2 separate regions of the Homo sapiens genome follow, and region 1 is linked to region 2. Evidence: promoter capture Hi-C in human tissues and cell types (Jung and others, 2019). All regions are on one chromosome and are shown on one strand. Each heading gives the region's core, a stretch centred on a gene start or on the middle of the fragment in contact. The rest is flanking DNA. Distances are from core to core; before and after follow the strand shown. Region 1 holds the start of ACER1 (alkaline ceramidase 1). Region 2 overlaps RFX2 (regulatory factor X2).

What was found. The method cuts DNA at HindIII sites, captures the fragments that hold promoters and counts their contacts. A contact is called where the count stands out against the background at its distance.
Region 1: the fragment with the promoter of ACER1 here is called in contact with a fragment that was not itself captured in region 2 in 1 of the 25 tissues and cell types used here (dorsolateral prefrontal cortex).

What each region holds. Positions count from the first base shown.
Region 1 is chr19:6,332,209-6,334,908 of GRCh38, reverse strand. ACER1 (alkaline ceramidase 1) reads left to right here and starts at 1,297. Exons shown (of 6, transcript NM_133492.3): 1 at 1,297-1,450. The coding sequence starts at 1,358. The HindIII fragment of the contact is 13,348 bases long and covers 1-2,700 here.
Region 2 is chr19:6,042,643-6,045,342 of GRCh38, reverse strand. It overlaps RFX2 (regulatory factor X2), which reads left to right. Exons shown (of 18, transcript NM_000635.4): 3 at 1,061-1,150. Among named protein-coding and RNA genes, the nearest start is that of RFX2-AS1, 19 kb to the left of the region's middle. The HindIII fragment of the contact is 4,983 bases long and covers 1-2,700 here.

The DNA of each region.
Region 1 (2,700 bases), core at 48-2,547, 290 kb before region 2:
TCAGTAAGAAAACCCTGTAATCCCAGCACTTTGGGACAGAGCAAGACTCCATCTCAAAAAAAAAAAGAAAACCCATTACCATCCATCAAGTGCCTACTCTAGCATAGGCAGTGGGCTAAGCCTTTGTACATGCTTTATCTCTGTCTTCCTTTGTTACAGTTGGCTCTGTCACCATCGTCTCCATATGACAGGTGAGCAAACAGAGGATCAGAGAGGTAAATTCACTTGCCCAAGGTCACACAGCTTAAAGTAGAGGAACTCAGGCCAGGTGAGGTGGCTCATGCGTATAATCCCGGCACCTTGGGAGGCCAAGGTGGGCAGATCACCTGAGGTCAGGAGTTCGAGACCAGCTTGACCAACATGGTGAAATCCTATCTCTACTAAAATACAAAAAAAATTAGCTGGGCATGGTGGCAGGTGCCAGTCATCCCAGCTACTTGGGAGGCTGAGGTAGGAGAATCGCTTGAACCCAGGAGGTGGAGGTTGCAGTGAGCTGACATTGCGCCACTACACTCCAGCCTGGGTGACAGAGCCAGACTGCATCTCAATTTTAAAAAAAAAGGCCGGGCACGGTGGCTCACGCACACCTATAATCCCAGCACTTTGGGAGGCCAAGGCAGGTGGATCACGAGGTCAGGAGATCGAGACCATCCTGGCTAACACAGTGAAACTCCATCTCTATTAAAAATACAAAAAATTAGCCGGTCGTGGCGGTGGGCGCCTGTAGTCCCAGCTACTCGGGAGGCTGAGGCGGGAGAATGGCGTGAACACGGGAGGCAGAGCTTGCAGTGAGCTGAGATCATGCCACTGCACTCCAGCCTGGGCAACAGAGCGACTCTGTCTCCAAAAAAAAAAACAATTAGCTAGGCATGGTGGCAGCATGTGCCTGTGGTCCTGGCTACTTCAGAGGCTGAGGCAGGAGTATTGCTTGAGCCTGGGAGTTTGAGGCTGCGGTGAGCTATGATGATGCCACTGTACCCCAGCCTGAGCAACAGAGCAAGGCCCTGACTCTAATAAATAAATACATACATACATAAAAGATAAAAACAGTTCCCTCCACTGCCCCCACCCCGATTCCTATTCCTGGGTAATCTGGATGGGAGGCCTCTTCCCTGCCTACTTCTGCCCCCTGCCCTGCCTGGACAGTGCCAGTCCCACGGCTTATGCTCAGGGCTGCTGTCACTGCACAGCCAGGCTGCCCTGGTGCAACTGGGGAGCGGCCCAGCAGGTTTTTCCTCCCAGTCTGCCTGCCGCGGGGCACCGGGCTGTCCTCTCCCCGCCTCATCAGGGCCCAGCCTTCCCAAGCTCGCCTTCTCTCTGCCGGGCGCAGCCGGCTGGTGGTGGCCACTGAGACAAGATGCCTAGCATCTTCGCCTATCAGAGCTCCGAGGTGGACTGGTGTGAGAGCAACTTCCAGTACTCGGAGCTGGTGGCCGAGTTCTACAACACGGTGAGTGCGTGGGTGTGTGAAGGAGTCTCGCCAGATGCCGGTTCGAATCCCGGTTCCTCCCCATACAGCCTTACTGGGGAATCTTGCTGGAGTGGTTCACCTGTCTCAGCCCTAGTTTTCTCATCTGTTAGCCAAAGAGTGCCAGCTTTCATTCATTTACTTGTCTTTACTTGATGCCAAGCTCTGTGGTAGGTTTTGGAGACACATTGGTGGCCAGGAAAAGAACCGGTCTCTGCCTTCCCTAAGCTAACTCTGATGTGACTGCAGGCATTTGCAACCGGGAGCGATGGTGCCTTCTTGGAGGGCACAGAGGCAGCTGTGGTAGGGGGAGGCAGAGGGTGCCCCTGAGCTAGAGGGGGTGGGCCAATCAGGAAAGGCTTCCTGGAAGAGGTGATTGTGTCTGTCTTGTTTGCAGCTGTACCCACTGACCAACTTGTCCCAGTGTGCCTGGGACTATCCTGGTTTCAGTATTTAAAAAGTTTCACCTCTTGGCTGGGCGCGGTGGCTCACGTCTGTAATCCTAGCACTTTGGAAGGCCAAGGTGGGTGGATTGCCTGAGCTCAGGAGTTGGAGATCGCCCTGGGCAACGTGGTGAAAGCCCATCTCTACTAAAATAAAAAATTAGCTGGGTACGGTGTCAGGCATCTGTAGTCCAAGCTACTCAGGAGGCTACGGCATGAGAATCGCTTGAACCCAGGAGGCGGAGGTTGCAGTGAGCTGAGATTGTGCCACTGCACTCCAGCCTGGGTGAAAAAGCGAGACTGTCTCAAAAAAAGAAGAAAAAAAGTCCCACCTCCTGAGAAACTCCTCAGTTCTGGACATTCTGAGGTGGTCTTCTCTTTCCCTGTTAAAACACCACATGGGAAGTGCTAAAAAATCATGGATGTACCTAGCACCATGGCTCATGCCTGTAACCCCAGCAATTTGGAACGCAGAGGCAGGAAGATCGCTTGAGCCCAGGAGTTCCAGACCAGCCTGGGCAACATAGCAAGACCCTGTCTCTACAAAAAGTTTTTAAAAATTAGCTGGGTGTGGTGGTGTGTGCTTGTAGTTCCAGCTACTTGGGAGGCTGAGGGGGGAGGATTTCTTGAACCCAAGAAGTGGAGGATGCAGTGAGCTGAGGTCATACCACTGCACTCCAGCCTGGGTGACAGAGGGAGACCCTGTCTCAAAAAAAAAAAAAAAAAAAAAAGGCCGGGCGCGGAGGCTCACGCCTGTAATCACAGCACTTTGCGAGGCCAAGGTGAGTG
Region 2 (2,700 bases), core at 181-2,680:
CCACTCACGGCCACCATGTGTGTCCCAGGTTTCATCACTGTGGTCCCTCTCTGAGGACTTGCCAGGACCCTGTGAATTCTCCAAGCACACGGCGCCCAGCTCACCTGGAATCAGAATGCCCTTGCGCTGGCATCCTTATTAGCACCATCTTCATCCTTAGCTCCACTCCTGCAACACAGGGGATGGCGTGTCCTCACCCATCACCCCTCGTGATGTATATATGGCAGTCACTGCTACCTGTGACATTCAGGGTTCATGCCGGGAAATCACAGCACTGCAGCCAATGACTCCGAAAGCCCCAGCTCTCAATAAACACACAAAACACTCCTGTTCCTCCCTCGACTCGAGTTCACTTTGACCCTTCCCATTTTGATAGCTTTGTGTGGCCAATCGGTACTCCCAGAAAAATAGCAAAGCCACACTGTGCAGATTTGACTTAGGAGGCTGGAGAGCAGTGGGGTCAGAGAGCGAGGGACCCAGACACAGGGCACCTGGACTCGAGTATTCTGTAGCCAGAGGCAGCACTTGAGCCCTCTGGCTTCATTAACCTCATCAGAAAATGGAAACAAGTCCGGGTTATACTGCAGAAGCGAGGGGCGCCACAGAGTGCTCTCCCACGCAGTGGTGCGGATGGCTATCCAGAGGGCCCCAGCAGTCCCCTCTGTACTAGGGACGATCAGTGTCACCTTGCTGCAGACTACAGACCCACAGAGGCAAAGCTGCCTGGGCGGGTGAAGGTGCATGTGCTTCCGTGTATGTGTGTGTGCATACGTGTGTGTGTGCCCACAATTCGTGCATATGTGTGGTGCATGGGCTGAGTGTATGTGCACACTTGTGTATGTATGTGCATTGTTTGTGTGCCTGCACGTACCTGCCGTGTGTCTGCCCAGGTCGGTGTGAGTGTGCAAGTCTGACCATCACCCCGCCGTCGCCTCTGATCAGTCCTGCCTATGTTTTAATAAAAAGCACATGAACAGACAAACAGCATCTTACATTCTGTGTGTATCCTCAGCACTGACCTCTGACAAGTCTAACTGGCCTTCTCTCCCTTCCCTTTTAGAGGGTGTTGGTCCAGGCAGCCAGCTCCAATCCCAAAGGGGCCCAGATGCAGCCGATCTCCCTCCCCAGAGTTCAGCAGGTACCCCAGCAGGTAATGACAAGCACCGCAGCACCGTGCAAACCGGGGCGCAGTTAGCACTCAGCAATCCAGAACAATCTCTGAAGGATGCATCCTTTTCTGTGGCTGCTGTTCCTTGTTGTAAGCTTCAGTTTCTTAGCCAAAAGACTTTTCCAGAAGCTGTGCAATTTTAAAAAAATCATTTACTGCAGATAGTTTTGCAGAAAGCCAAGAAAGCTGGTGATCTTTCGTTCATTCAGAAATTCAGCAAGCATTTGGGGAACCAGTGAGCACCCCGCACCTGCTGGGTGGAGCTCAGGTAGAAATGCAGACAGAAACAAAGGGCTCTGGACTGGAGGAACCATCTGCTAGTGAGTGCCATACCCTCAGATGCGGGCACAACAGAGGAAATGCTTCTTATGATTTCAATTATCTAAGAACAAAGTTTGAAAGCACGGCTGACCAGCCAAGTAGCAACACAGATCATCAGCTTGGGGACACTCTAGAAGCATGGTTAGCAAACTGTTTCCAGAAAAGGCCAAATTATACATTTTTGGGGGTTTGTGGTCCAGGCAGTCTCTGGAACAACCACTCAATTCTGCCATTGTATCGCAAAAGCAGCCATAAATGATATGCAACCAAATGGGTGTGGCTGTGTGCCAATAAAACTTTATTTACAAAAACAGGCAGTGGGCCAGATTTGGCCCTCAGGGCCGGAGTTTGCCAACTGTGCCCTGCAGAATCCTGAATTAAAGTTAACTCAGGCTCCTCCCTAAAAGGAGCCCTGAGGCCCTAGAGAATGCACCGCTCTTCAGGAGGGTCCTGCCTAGATTGGCAGTCTGTTCACAGGCATTTGTCAGGTGACTGTGTCCATGAGAACTAGGAAGGTTTGCAGGATCACAGGAAGGAAAAGGCTCCAGACAGGCCCAGCGGGGACGCAGGGCCTCAGGCCAGTGGCTCTGTCTTAGCTGCTGTCTGTCAAGGCACTCCCCAGAGACACCAAGGAGAGGAGATTCCAGAAGCTTCCACCACTTTTCTGGTGCTGGGCCTGCCCCAGCTCTTTCTGTAACTTCTGCATTTCACTTGGACCCCAGAATTCGACATTTGACTTCCACCCCTGGGGCATCACCCAACAGATGTTAACCCCTGGAACTTGTGATTCTGGGGGTGGTGCGTTGGACAAGTGCATACCATGCTCAGTGGTCCAAGGAGGGGCAGGTCAGCCCCATCCTGCAGCTTCAAGCACAAGAGGAAGGTCACCATGACACCATGACACCCGAACAAGCCCACTTCTGTGGCCCTCCATCTTCTCACCCCAAAATTCAGTGGATGTAGACAGCCACTAAGATGCCCTCTGGGGTGAGAGTTTGAAGTCCCATGTGCAAAGCGTTTGGCTTCCACTGCTCGGACTAGAGTCCCTCGGGGCCTGTCAGCCGAGGCTCTGAACTGATGTTTCAGAGAGGGGAGGGCAGGGCAGCGGGGGTGTGCTGGGGTCCCCCCATTGCCCCATCTCTCCAGGCATGCCGCTCCTTCCCACTCTGTTCAGACCATCACATTCTCTCCCCTCCTCTCTGCCAGGGAAG